Regions from separate parts of the Homo sapiens genome. Here regions 1, 2, 4 and 5 are each linked to region 3. Evidence: promoter capture Hi-C in 16 types of primary human blood cells and fetal thymus (Javierre and others, 2016). All regions are on one chromosome and are shown on one strand. Each heading gives the region's core, a stretch centred on a gene start or on the middle of the fragment in contact. The rest is flanking DNA. Distances are from core to core; before and after follow the strand shown.

Region 1 (2,700 bases), core at 147-2,646, 6.0 Mb after region 3:
GGGACAGACTTTGGTTCCATGCCTGGCCCTGCTGTGGGCATGTTTTGTCGTCTGTAAAATGGGCACAGAAGCAATCCACTTTGGGTGGCTTTTGTAAACATTAAGTGAATTAATGTGTGGCAGGCACATGGGAGGTGCTCAATGTGCATTTGGGGGGAGAAGAATTTCATTAAACATTCTTTTTTTTTTTTTTTTTTTTTTTTTGAGATGGAGTCTCGCTCTGTCGCCCAGGCTGGAGTGCAGTGGCGGGATCTCGGCTCACTGCAAGCTCCGCCTCCCGGGTTCACACCATTCTCCTGCCTCAGCTTCCCAAGTAGCTGGGACTACAGGCGCCCGCCACTACGCCCGGCTAATTTTTTGTATTTTTAGTAGAGACGGGGTTTCACCGTTTTAGCCGGGATGGTCTCGATCTCCCGACCTCGTGATCCGCCTAAACATTCTATCTAAGGGGTTTTTCTTCCCAGCAGGGCCCAAGCCCAGCCTCCTTCCAGAGGCGAAGGCGCAGAACCGAACCTAGGAGGTTTCAGGTCACTCCTAGAGTAACAAGATGCAGGTTGACCCTCCTCTGCTATATTGCTTGTGGGGCTGGACCTCAGATGAGGGCTGCTCGACCTGGGAGAAATGGTCTCAATTCTCTAGGAGAGCTTTTTCCGCAGGAAGCTGAATAAATGTTCATGGCCCACTGTGGGCCTCCATTTCCTTACCCTCCAGATGAAGGCAGAGTCAGGGTCTGGATGCCGAGGGCCCACTTCTTTCTAATGTGTCCAAGCATCCCTGGGACTCCTGAGGGGGCTCCTATGCTGGGGAGAAGGCTGCAGACACCTGAGGGGACGTGCTGGCTTCATGCAGCAGGCCCTGTCTTCAGAGGAAGGATGCCCTATCTCTATCTGACCCCCTCCTGAGGAAGAGGAACTTGTGGCCTGTCTTCCGCTGAACCGGCCAGAACAGGAACCAGGGCCACCTTGAGCATGAGCCAAGATGAACCCAGTCCTTGGCTTCAGGTTTCTGTTTCTCAGATTGGGTTTCAGAATGGAACGTCCTCGGGGGCAGCTTAGTAACCTGGAGTCTTCGTACTCTTTCCGGCTGCCCAAAGTAGCTGCCTGCCTTCCCCTTTAAAAGGGGCTCCTCAGCTCTGGGCCTCTGCCCAGCCAGCCTGACAGAGATGGTCCAGCCTCGGCAAGGGCAAAGTCACTTAGGGGACAGGGCTGAGATGCACCATCACCCACCTTCATCCCCTGTCAACTGTGACTGCACATCGGAAAAAGTCTGTTTGTTGTTGTTGTTATTTGAGAAGGAAGCTGAGGTTTTCAGAGGTTAAGTGACTTGCCTGAGGTCACGCAGGGAGCCAGCTGGCTGCTGTACACAATGAGATTTGTGGCCTATGCCTCAAAGTAACACCAACACAATTGTCACAGCAATTCCCATGCCCTGCCATTCATGCCCAAACACACTTGACCTTGGCTGGGGACGGGGGTGAGGAGCAAAAGCAATTTTATGGCTTATAGAGGTCTTTTCCAAATGCATTTTGAGATCAATCACCGCTCTGCTTAATCACCTCTCTAGCTCCCACCTCCTACAAAGGAGGTGTCGTCTAGATCTGCACCGTCTGATAAGGTAGTCATTGGCCACATGTGCTAGGGAGCGCTTGAAACGTGGCCAGTCTGAATCAAGATGGGCTGTGAGTGTAAAATACACACTGGATTTCAAAGACTTGATGGGCAAAAAGAAATGGTAACAATCTGATTCATAATTTTATATTGATGGAAATATAAGTCTCTTGGTGGAAATGGTGATACTTCAGATGTGAACTATCAATGAAAATTAATTTCACCTGTTTCTCTTTACTTTTTTGGCTGTTGGAACCTTTAAAATTGCATCCGTGCATTGCAGTTGTGGGTGGTGTCATATCTGGATGGCGCTGCTTTAGAAAGTCCTGTGACTGAGAGGATGAGGTGGGGCTGAGAGTGGGGAGCCAGAAGAAGGAGACAGGATGGCTCTGCTGGGCAGACATCCCTTGCTCACCAGATATGTTTTTCAAGGGAGGCTGTGTTGTAAGATAGGGAGCCAGGCAGCTCTGATCTCGGCAGCATTATCTACTGGCTATGTGACCTCGGGCCTCTTTTTCAGCCCTGAGCTTCAGTCTCCTCTTTTAAATGGGTCTATAACCCAGAGCCCACTGAGAGGGTCCTTAAGCGGATGAAAGGAGGCAGAGTGTGTATAGCACCCACTTCAGTACCTGGCACAGCCAGAGCTTGGTAAGTTCAGATAACAAATGTAAATGGGAAAGGTGTGAAAAGCAACCTAGAGACCAGGATACCGTGGTTTTGGATTAACAGCATTAGGGATCTACAGTCTGTGGATGTCCTGGATGGCCCCACTTCCCTCATCAGCCTCGCCTTGCTCACCTGGTCCATGGGTAGAAATGGGCAGGTTGGCGGTTGGTACATGCAGACGCGGTGGCCTCAGCAGTGGTTGGGCCCCTTGTCTTGTCCGCTAGGCTCTGCTCGATGGCCATCTGCACCAGTTCATCCTCGCTCAGGCTGCTGTACAGGCTGTACTCCTCCTGCCCAATGGTACACTGGCTGCCCCGAGTGCTGATCTGCGTGGCCATCCTCCTCCACCTCTCACCCTGGCCTCCAGAACAGACACCCAGTGGGGAGGAGGGAACAGCAAATCAGAAAACCCTGTGAGGAAACCAAA
Region 2 (2,700 bases), core at 65-2,564, 5.3 Mb after region 3:
TAACACTTGAACAACACGGGTTTGAACTGTGCGGATCGATCAATGCAACCTGGTACATGGGATTCTAAACACCGTATTGAGAGGGCCGACTTTTCTTATACTCACATTCCACAGGACGGACAGGCAGACTTGAGTATGCTTGGATTGGGGTATATGTGGTGGGTCCTGGAACCAATCCCACGTATATAGTATATGGGGGATGACTGTATTGCATTAACTGAAAGAGCTATGATTAGCAAACTAAAAAGCGGTGTGTAAACACTGCTTCTTTATAATTTATGGAAATGTTAAATAAGATCAGTCCCCACTGTTTACACTTATTACTAACCTTTATTACTTGACTTTGCTTCTATTTCCTAGCCACAATTTAAAAAACAAAATTAAAATGGTATCAACAACAATAGAATTCTAAGTAATTTCAGGATAACACTTTTTCTAACAGCCTTTGATGTGGAAATCTAAAACTTTTTGAAAAGCCAAGTAAGGTCTGCTGGTTGCACCTTGTCCTTTTGTCTATCTGCACAGCTGGAGACTTCTAGTAGACTGTTTGGATCTAGAAACCATTTGTAAGTGATCCATGATTTTTTTCTACCCTTTAATTCATTCACTGTTTCCTTATTATACCATTTAACTGTACTTTTGAGATCCTGAATTAGCTCAGTTTACACACTCATCAGAATTTAGATGTTTATTTTAGTTCAGTCCGATACACATTTAAAGTATCCAGTACCATGTGCCAAGCACGGTACTACATGCTGGGGGTAAAAAATAAATGGATCTTTGTACTTAAGGAGCTTAGAATCTAAATAAGAAGACAGAGTGAAAAACATTTTTTTAAGGCTAGTGTTAAGATGGTACTAAGTAGTGGTTAACAGCATGCATTCTAGAATCAGATAGATCTGGATGGCCATATGACACAAATAGGTCAACCAGAACCTTTTCTGGAAATTTTTGCCACACTCTCAGAGGAGATGTTTCTTCTTACTCTATTTCTCCGGGATTATGACTCGAAAGGACATGTAAATTGGCTTTGTTTGCCAATGAGGAGAAAGCCATGTGCGGTAGGAAAGGAGGAAGACCATAAACAAAGAAACAAAGTGAGAGAAAGGAAAACCATGACATCATTTGAATACCTGGGCCTACCTGGGCCTGAAACCAACCCATCCCTGGTCTTTTCATTTTTAGAAGCCATTAAGTTGCCCTAACACCTCTTTTTATCTTAAGTTAGTTGGAAATGGGTAAAAACAGTGAACTTCTGTGGCTTTCAACCAAAAGTCCTGAATTTATGTTTTGTTCCTTTCTCCACTCCCTCCATCAGTGAATGGCATCCCATCCACCTGGTCATCTATGTTGAAAATAAGAGTAATCAACATTTCATGGTATATTCCATGGTCTGTCACTCCAGTCTTTTCCTTCCTTTGTACCCCCCTTTTTTACCACACATAACCATCCACTGAAACCCATTCCCACACTCATCTTCCTGGAAATACAGGATGGAAGCTGGGTTTTTGAAATTAAGGAGAAAAGACAAATTTTATCTCCCCCTATTTCTCTGCATGTAACAATCCTGTTTTCATGCATTTTTCTGAATTTCCTGAAGTCTAAAAGGTGAAGAGGATTGAAAACCCCAGAACAGTGATAAGTACCTTGTAGATGCTTAATTAAGAAGTGCTTAATAATTATTCAATTTTCAATTTTTTTTTTTCTTGAGACAGAGTCTTGCTCTGTCACCCAGGCTGGAGTGCAATGACGCAATCTCAGCTCAGTGCAACCTCCGCCTCCTGGGTTCAAGTGATTCTCCTGCCTCAGCCTCCCGAGTAGCTGGGATTACAGGTGCGTGCCACCATGCCTGACTAATTTTTTGTATTTTTAGTAGAGACAGGGTTTCACCATGTTGGCCAGGCTGGTCTCAAACTCCTGACCTCGTGATCCGCCCACCTTGGCCTCCCAAAGTGCTAGGATTACAGGCGTGAGCCACTGCACATGGCCTTAATAATTATTAAATTAACAAATAATACAATTAATAAAGGTTTTAGAAAATAATATTGGAAAATATTCATTGCCTTGGGGAAGAAAAGACAAGCAAGTCACAGAAAACATTAATCATGAAGACAAGATTCATAGATTCAACTGTATTTAAAATATGAACTTAAGTGCATCAAAATGTACTGATATGGTTTGGATGTTTGTCCCCTCCAAATCTCATGTTGAAATGTAATCGCCAGTGTTGGAAGTGGGACCTGGTGGGAGGTGTTTGGATCATGAAGGCAGATCCCTCATGAATGGCTTCACACTATCCCCTTGTGATGGTGGTGGGAGGCAGACAGGTTCCTAGGTGGGAAGGGGTGGGTCCCTGGTGAAACCCCACCTTCAAACCAGAGATGGCCTAAAGCCTGGGGGCCAGGCTGCCAGTTCCCAGTGAAGTCCACGACCTGGAGTGAGAACTTCCTTGATGCCTTTCAGCCAATAAAGTAGTGCTTTTTCCAGGCCCGCCCACAGACCAATTAGCATGCATTTCTTCCTGCCCATGGACCAATCAGCATGCACTTCATTCTGAGCCAATAAAAACCCCCAGACCCAGCCTAACTCACAGACTCATAGAGTCTACGCACTTTGGGTCTTGGCTCCTCTGAGAGCTGTTTGGTTGCCCAAAAAAGCTCTTCTTAAGTTTGTTTCCCCTCCAGTTGTCCATGTAACTTA
Region 3 (2,700 bases), core at 201-2,700:
ATTAGGTAGGAGTTTCCTACTTTGAATTACGAAATGATTCTTCTCATCTTAGTAATTTTAAACTGGGCTTAATAAACCTAATGGAAACAAAGACTTCCATTTTTCGGTAAGCTCTTACCCTAGATATAGTATCACAAGTAAAGCTATAAAAAAGATGGGGCCTCACTCCATGAAATATTGGCTGTTTCAGGTTTAGCCCAAAAACATAAAAAGGAGAATAGTAGTAGCAAAGAATAAATGCATTAACTCATCGGCCCACAGGTTTCCCCTGAAATACACATCAGCACGGCTGGAGAGATTGCAAATTAGGGAATGAAAACATAAAAATCAAAAAGGATCAGCTAACTCCAGGGGGAAAAAAATTTCCCCTAGCAGAAGGTTATATCTTGTGGTCACACTACAGACCAGGTCATCCTTGCAGCAGGCATTCAAGCTTGTTCTGAGTTGAATGTAAGGATGCAAGCTCCATCCAACTCAACCCCAAAAATCCGAGTTCAACCTTAACATTTTCAAGAAACATTAGCCCTAGATGTAATTTCGGATACAAAACCAAAAAACAAAAACCTTCTCACCCAAAGGTCGGCCACCATGAAGCCCATGGGCCCAGAGGGAGTACCCGGTAGTTTCAGGCCGCTCGCTTATCTTCCTTTTAAAGAGACCTTGAGGCACCAGTCCTGCCTCCAAACGAAATCCTATTCGGCGCTACCCTCTCTGGAGGAGCCCATTCTTACCCTGCACTAACAACTGCACGGGACTTAACGACTCCACCACCCACCAACTCCTCCAAAAGGGAGAGACACAGCCAAAGCATCCCACTGGGGCGTTCTCTTTCGCACACGGACGCTCCCGCACTCCCTGGCCCTTTCTGGAGCGACGCTCCCCGACTGCCATCTCCGCGATGAAGACAGCCTGTGCCCCACTGCCTGGGACGAGGGTTCCAGCCCCGGCTACTTCACTACTTAGACCTGTCACTTTACTCTCTGCACCTATACTCTCTGGACCTCCGGATCCTCATTTGTTCAAACCTAACTGCCTGTCTGGTTCGTGTTAAACGAGAAAGCACCCGCCCCAGCCCCGCAGCGGGCCCGCCCCAACCGCCTGCTGACTGGCACCCTAGGGGAATGCGGCGGAGAGTGGAGCCGGTGGAAACGCAGGGCAACGCCGCGGGGGCTTGTGGGGCTGGCCCCACGGGGCGGGCTCTTGCCGCCCCCCGCGTATCCCCGCAGCTTGCCGCTCACCCCGCCGCCGCTGACCGCGCCGATGCCGTCGAACTCCCGGCCCAGCCCGTCGGAGTCGTCGAGCACGTACGCGCCGCCGGGCGCCAGCAGCGCACACAGCAGCAAGGGCACCGCGGCGCGGCCCGCCGAACCCGCGGCCGCAGTCATAGCTTTCGCTCGGCGTTGCCAGGAAGCCGAGAGTAGCCACTCAGCCATTGTGTGGGTCACATGACTCCGGCGCCCAGGGAGGCGGGTCCCGTCGCCGCCACGATAGATACGGGCAGGAGGCCGCTGATGCTGACGCCGCCGCCGCCATTTTGAGTGCGGGTCAAGGGCCTCTGACGCAGCTGGCGGAGTGTTGAGAAAAGAAGCAGCGAGCTTTTTCTTATCGCTCGCGTGTCTGTGGTCAGCTACTGGATTTCACATGTACTTACTGCTGGCTTCTCTTCCGGCGTCACCTGGTGGAGCACTTTAACGCAGGGAAGGTGGATTCCAAGGTCCGCCAAAGGAAGAGGGCCATGAGTGGCCCTACCATGGCTCTTCCCCAGCATCTCAGGGAGTATCTACCTCGTGCGAGGACCAGGCTTGGACACCAGGTCCCGATTCCATTGTCATCTTGGTGGAATCACTTTGCTTTTGGAGCCTGAGTTTTCCCTTATGTGAGATGAGGCGAGAAGAGCAGCAGAGTGAGGGACTGAGAGAAAAGTTAATAAGCACTCAGTACATTTGAATGCATTCCACAAGTGGCAAATAGCTGAGAAGGTTCTCCAGTCTGGTAACTACCCCGGCATATTCAAAGCTTTTAGCCTTGAAGGAGTTAATAATATACCACCTCAAAATATGCTGCTGTGGCATATTGACTATTTTAAATTAAAGGCACTTAAAAACAGCAGGTGCAAGATCACTGTCATGGATATTATGTGTCTTAAAAGGAGGAGATGAAATTCCCATGTGAAAGATGTCTTCCCTATAAAATAACATTGTTATCTTCAAGGACAGAAAGTTGAAGTCGAGGGAAATCTGTCCAAACAAAATTTGTTAATCCCTATCTTTCTAGTCGCTTCTTTACCCCAAGCCCCTTCGCCTTATCATGTTTCACAACTACTATTTTTTGTCCATTTCACTCTATAAGCAATTGGCTCTTAACTGCTGCTTTAGGTCTTTTTTTTTTTTAATGAGGGCCCCCGTGCTATGTAAAATAAACATTTGTGTGGTTGTCTCCTGTCAGTCTATTAATATCTTAAATCAATTTAATACTAGGGCCATGCTGGGACCCTACAGGGACGAAGGTGAAATTTTGCCTCCCCTACAATTTTATAAACTATCTTCCACTGTCAGTTGAAGTGATTCCAGACAGGTAACTCTAAATTGGTAGGAAAGTTGTGAATTGCCCTGAATTTCTGCCACATCCAGCACTGTCCTGAGATTTCTGATTTCCTTGTTATTGAAGTAAATTAAAGAGACTCTGAAGAGCTGCAGAGAA
Region 4 (2,700 bases), core at 8-2,507, 7.0 Mb before region 3:
GAGTTTGTTTATCCATTATCTAGTCGCGAGACACTTGGTTCGTTTAGTGGTTATGAATAAAGCTTCTGTAAAATTTGGAATACACATATTTTAAATGTACGGTTTAATGAATTTTGATAAATGTATACATCCACTTAACCTCCAGCCTAATTACGATATGGAAACCCTGTGTGTTCCCTCCTGTCTTTTTCTAGTCAATCTTTCCTAACCTTTATTCTGATTCCCATAACCACAACTTTTTCCTTCCTGTCCTAGCCAAGTTCATATAAAAGGAATTATGCAGTATAGAAGGAATTGACATTCCTTTTATCCCAAGAGGAATAAGTGATTGAAGACTTTTAAGAAGGAAATAGGCACAATCTGATTTATGTTTGTAATGATCTTTTTGGCTACTGTGCGAAGAATGGTGAGTATGCCACTTAAGTATTATTTTTCTTCCCATCTTCCAGGGGGAATATGACTCAATGAAATTCTTGGGTCGACCAGAATTTCCATACTGGACCCATTATTAAGGGAACCTGGAATTATTTCTGCCATTCCCGATTCTTCCCAGCAGATGGCCCCAAAGTTCAGTTCCTGAATTGCCTCGCGGAGCCGCGGGCTGCAACGTGAGGCGGCCGCTGCCAGTCGACTCAACCACCGGAGTGGCCCCTGCAGTTGGATAGCAACGAGAATCCTCCAGGGGTGCAGGGCGACGGCTTCGGCCGCACCGCGGGCTAGCCAGGGCTGCGTGCCCGCCTCTGACCCTCAGCAGAGGTGTCTCTGGCCAGGAGGAGCTGAAGTTCTGCAGGACATTGGTCCGCCCGCGGACAGTCCACTCCGCGGGGACTTTCTCTGGATAAGGAGTGCGTGCGAGTGGCTCCCAGGCAGACAGGGTGTCTAGAAGGCTACACGCTAGGGAAGGTGGCTCCTTGGATTTAAAGAGGAGGAAAGGAGGGGGCATCTAAACTAGGCTTTGGAGAGAACTAATGGGAGGGGCGCCCGGGGTGGGGGGGCGGGCTGGAAAACAGAGGGGACAGCCAGGACTGGTGTTGGGTGTCAGGGAACAGACGGAGCGGACTGCGTGGGTCCAGCCAAGGAAAGTGAAGCAAGCAGACTTGTTTGGGTCAAGGTTGCCTAGGGAAGCGGAGCACTTAAGTGCCTCTTTTTCCCCTTCTCCAGCCTCCTCCACAGTGGTGAGGTCACAGCCCCTTGGAGCCCTCCCTCTTCCCACCCCTCCCGCTCCCGGGTCTCCTTTGGCCTGGGGTAACCCGAGGTGCAGAGCTGAGAATGAGGCGATTTCGGAGGATGGAGAAATAGCCCCGAGTCCCGTGGAAAATGAGGCCGGCGGACTTGCTGCAGCTGGTGCTGCTGCTCGACCTGCCCAGGGACCTGGGCGGAATGGGGTGTTCGTCTCCACCCTGCGAGTGCCATCAGGAGGAGGACTTCAGAGTCACCTGCAAGGATATTCAACGCATCCCCAGCTTACCGCCCAGTACGCAGACTCTGTGAGTACCCGGGAGAGATCAGGGTAGGACCCAGAGATCAAGGGCATCTGCAGAGGTGGCCCGAAGTGCACAAAAGCAGCTCAATAACAGCCCGAAGTAGTGTGTGAGTGTGTGTATGTGTGAGTGAATGTCTGTGTGTGTAGATGTGTGTGTGTGCTAAAAACTTAATCGCCCACACTTGGGAAGGTATCATTGTTGACATCCTCATTCCCAACACAGGAAAATGTTACAAAACTTTGGTGTACAATGACCGTGAGAGCTGTTCTTTCCAACAAGCTGCTATTCAGCACTTTGCCTAACCCTGGTTGAATCTGTTTTATTTGAATTAATAAGGATAATGGCATCTCAGGAACTGACCTTTTTGATCTTACCTTGGGTAATAAAAAATTGCAAAAATATGTATTTCTCCTTTTTGTTTCTCTAGATGGGAGGTTATCTTAGCAGTTCTGCTGATTCATCAAATTGTTGACAAAGGTTTAAGCAGGGGCCCTTTTTAAAATGAACTGTCTATACAGTATCTGTAAGTTACTTACTCAAATGTGAACTGCCAGTGAAATAGTACGTCCAGAACCCTGCTTTGTGATAGAGGTATAAAGAAATGAAATTTCATAAAAGTATAGTACATTTATCTGCATGTTAAATGTTACCAGATTAGAAACCTGATGTTAAATAAGATTATACACACACAACCTGTTTCTTAACAGCAATTTAAATCAGTGATCATTGAAATTGTAGACAAAACCAAGGGAATAAAGTCTGTCTTGATTAGTTAAAAAGAGAACAGAAAGAAAGGACAGTAAAACAACCTAGGCTGGTTAAATCCAGTTAAGATAAAAAAAAATGCAGGTTATTAAAGAAAATGTTGATAGATGAAAAGAAATGGGAAAGTTGCACCTCTAGATTTTCTCAAGAATTTAGCTCATGAAGACTATTTAACAGTAGATGAATATTTGAGCACAGAGATATATTTCTGTGCTCAGAGATATCCTAGTGTCTTAGCACACCTGAATTAATTAGTTCAATAACCTCCAAACAGTGTGGTAGTCATTCTCCATGCTGCCACCACAGAATAAGATGTGTAAAAGGTGTAATGGCCTCTTGATTACACCTCTACATAGGTTGCTTGTCACCTCTAGAATAAAATTCTTTTGTGCAGCCTACCAGATCTTTCAAGACCTAGTCAAGTCTTTCCAACCTCATTGCTCCTCATTTC
Region 5 (2,700 bases), core at 171-2,670, 7.1 Mb before region 3:
TTACTTGCTTACATTTATACAAAGGCATAATAATGTTCAACTTTATTGAAATAATAATAGCTATTGATTTACAGTTTCCTATGGACTAATTTCTGTACTAAGTGCTTTATGTATGCTCTCTCATTTGATCCTCATAACATTATTATTATCATCCCCATTTTACAGAAAACAGAACTAAGGCTTAAAGGAGCAAAGTAACTTAAGTGGCAGAGCCAGGATTCAAATCCAGGCAAGAAGACTATTTCCGAAACCCAACTTTTTAATCAGTACACTTGTTACATGTAAATGGCAGTGGTGAGAAAGCAAAAAACAAAAACAAACAAACAAATGAAAAACAGGTATACCAATGAGTAAAGGTACTCTTCCCTAAAAGCAAAATAAGCTGATAAGAATAAAGTGCTTGGCTGGGCACAGTGGCTCATGCCTATAATCCCAGCACTTTTGGAGGCCAAGGTGGGTGGATCACTTGAGGTCAGGAGTTCAAGACCAGCCTGGCCAGCATGGTGAAACCCTGCCTCTACTAAAACTACAATAATTAGCTGGGTGTGGTGCTGAGCACCTGTAATCCCTGCTATTTGAGAGGCTGAGGCAGGAGAATTGTTTGAACCCAGAAGGCAGAGGTTGCAGTGAGCCGAGATTGCACCACTGCACTCCAGCCTTCTGGAGTAAGACAGAGTAAGAGTCTGTCTCAATAAATAAATAAATAAATAAATAAATAAATAAATAAATAAATAAAAATAAAGTACTTATTGTTGTATTCAAGCTATGAGTCCCCCCACCAAAAAAAAAAAAAAAAAAAAAACAGAACACACATGAGCTAGCTTAAGTGAAACAGAAATTAATCGTTTTTAAAGAATACAATAATGATGGTAGTGGTGGTGGTGGTCATCATGGTAGAAGCCAAAATAAGCAATAATACTAATAATTCAACAATTAAATGGCCCTTTTCTGTGCCAGGCTCTGTTCTAAGCACTTTACTTGTATTAACTAATGTAACCCCAACAGTAGCCCTAGAGTAAACATAGCTGTAATCAATATGACAGGTAAGGAAACAACTTCCAAAAGTTAACTTGCCCAAACTCAAAAAAGTAGAAAGCTTTCTTACACACAGACATCTCTATTCCATAACCAAAACCTAGCAGGCTCAGTTCCAGGCTGTATTTTTGCTCTAATTTCATCAGGAGTCCACCCTGCTCCAGCACTTCAGAGCAGGAGACAGAATCAAATGGACCAGTGCCTGGGAAGTACAGAATTAAAGCTCATCCATTCATTCATGAGCACATTCGTTCACAAGCACTTATTCATCCATTCATGAGCACCTGTTTCACAGCAAACCCTGTATGCAGAGTAGATTCTAAATGTTTATCAGGCCAGGCACAGTGGCTCAGGCCTGCAATCACAGCACTTTGACAGGCCAAAGTGGGAGGATCACTTGAACCTGGGAGGTCGAGGCTGCAGTGATCCAAGATGACACCACTGCACTCCAGCATGAGTTACAGAACAAGACTTCATCTCAAAAGAAAGAGAGAAAGAGAGGAAGGAAGGAAGACAGGGAAGGAGGGAAGGAGGGATGGGAAAATGTTTATCAGAATGAATTAAATGGATTCATGTAACCACAAATACTCCCATCTCCCAAATACCCCAAGCACTAGCATTATAGAAATTTCAGAGAGGTGTGCATATCCGATAAAGGCCTGACAAGTCTCTGAGTCATTCATAATTAGTGATAACAAGATACCAGAAACAAGCTTTAAAAACTAAAAGAAAAACTCACAAAAATATTTGCATTATATGGGAACCAAAGGGTTAATCAGCTCTTTCAAAAACACAAGAAAAAGAACAGTCCAGTTGTAAAAGACTCAAAAGATACATAAGCAGACAATTCACAGAAATCAAATGACCCTAACAAATGTTATTTGTTATTTCACTAAATAATTACAAATTAAAATAATAAAATGATATTCTTATCTATCTGTTTTATACAGATGAAAAAACCTCTCACTCGCAGGGTTAGCAAGGTTATACCTTGTTGTAAGAGTATTAACTATAAAAACTACATTAGCATGTATATCTACTATGTACCCACAAAAATTAAAAATTTAAAAAAAAAAAACCACATTAGCTTTTCTGGAGAACAACCTGGCAATACAAGTAAAAATAAATAATACGGGCCAGGCGCAGTGGCCCATGCCTGTAATCACAGTATTTTGGGAGGCCAAGGTAGGAGGATTGCTTGAGCCCAAGCGTTCGAGATGAGCCTGGGCAACACAGTGAGACCTTGTCTCTACAAAAAAATAAAACAAAATTAGCCAGGTGTGGTAGTGCACACCTGTAGTCCTAACTACTCGGGAGGCTGATGTGAGAGGATTTCTCAAACCTGGGAGGTAGAGGCTACAGTGAGCCAAGATAGCACCACTGCACTTCAGCCTGGGTGACAGAGTGAGACCCTGTCTCAATCAATCTGTAATATACATAGACGTTGACCCAGAAAATCTATTTCTATGACTATTAACCTAGGAAGATAAAATATTTATATATATTTTATGTATAGACATATGCATAAGAATTTCACTGTAGAAATTCTTCAGAAATTTTAATTCACTCATCCATTCATCCATGAGCACATTCATTCACTCCAGCCTGGGCAACAGAGTGAATGAATTTTTTTACAGTTGTAAAAGAATAAGAAAAAAATATAAA

What was found. The method cuts DNA at HindIII sites, captures the fragments that hold promoters and counts their contacts. A CHiCAGO score of 5 or more calls a contact.
Region 1: a fragment that was not itself captured here is called in contact with the fragment with the promoter of GALC in region 3 in 4 of 17 cell types (total B cells, non-activated CD4 T cells, activated CD4 T cells and 1 more); the score reaches 5.7 in total B cells.
Region 2: a contact is called between a fragment that was not itself captured here and the fragment with the promoter of GALC in region 3, in 1 of 17 cell types (total B cells). The highest score is 6.2, in total B cells.
Region 4: the fragment with the promoter of TSHR here is called in contact with the fragment with the promoter of GALC in region 3 in 1 of 17 cell types (total B cells); the score reaches 6.5 in total B cells.
Region 5: a contact is called between a fragment that was not itself captured here and the fragment with the promoter of GALC in region 3, in 1 of 17 cell types (total CD4 T cells). The highest score is 5.2, in total CD4 T cells.

Annotation. Positions count from the first base shown.
Region 1 is chr14:93,961,929-93,964,628 of GRCh38, forward strand. It overlaps ASB2 (ankyrin repeat and SOCS box containing 2), which reads right to left. Exons shown (of 10, transcript NM_001202429.2): 2 at 2,406-2,684. The coding sequence starts at 2,611. Among named protein-coding and RNA genes, the nearest start is that of ASB2, 13 kb to the right of the region's middle. RefSeq lists enhancers at 554-1,054, 1,055-1,555. The HindIII fragment of the contact is 4,504 bases long and covers 1-2,700 here.
Region 2 is chr14:93,334,652-93,337,351 of GRCh38, forward strand. It overlaps a transcript of UNC79 not described here. Among named protein-coding and RNA genes, the nearest start is that of BTBD7, 3.0 kb to the left of the region's middle. The HindIII fragment of the contact is 3,744 bases long and covers 1-2,700 here.
Region 3 is chr14:87,991,732-87,994,431 of GRCh38, forward strand. It overlaps GALC (galactosylceramidase), which reads right to left and starts at 1,451. Exons shown (of 17, transcript NM_000153.4): 1 at 1,239-1,451. The coding sequence starts at 1,433. RefSeq lists a silencer at 1,119-1,308 and enhancers at 1,264-1,764, 1,459-1,788. The HindIII fragment of the contact is 1,583 bases long and covers 432-2,014 here.
Region 4 is chr14:80,954,364-80,957,063 of GRCh38, forward strand. TSHR (thyroid stimulating hormone receptor) reads left to right here and starts at 1,258. Exons shown (of 10, transcript NM_000369.5): 1 at 1,258-1,487. The coding sequence starts at 1,318. It also overlaps a transcript of CEP128 not described here. The HindIII fragment of the contact is 2,816 bases long and covers 61-2,700 here.
Region 5 is chr14:80,934,867-80,937,566 of GRCh38, forward strand. The region is part of intron 2 of CEP128 (centrosomal protein 128); the gene reads right to left. Among named protein-coding and RNA genes, the nearest start is that of CEP128, 5.5 kb to the right of the region's middle. The HindIII fragment of the contact is 652 bases long and covers 1,095-1,746 here.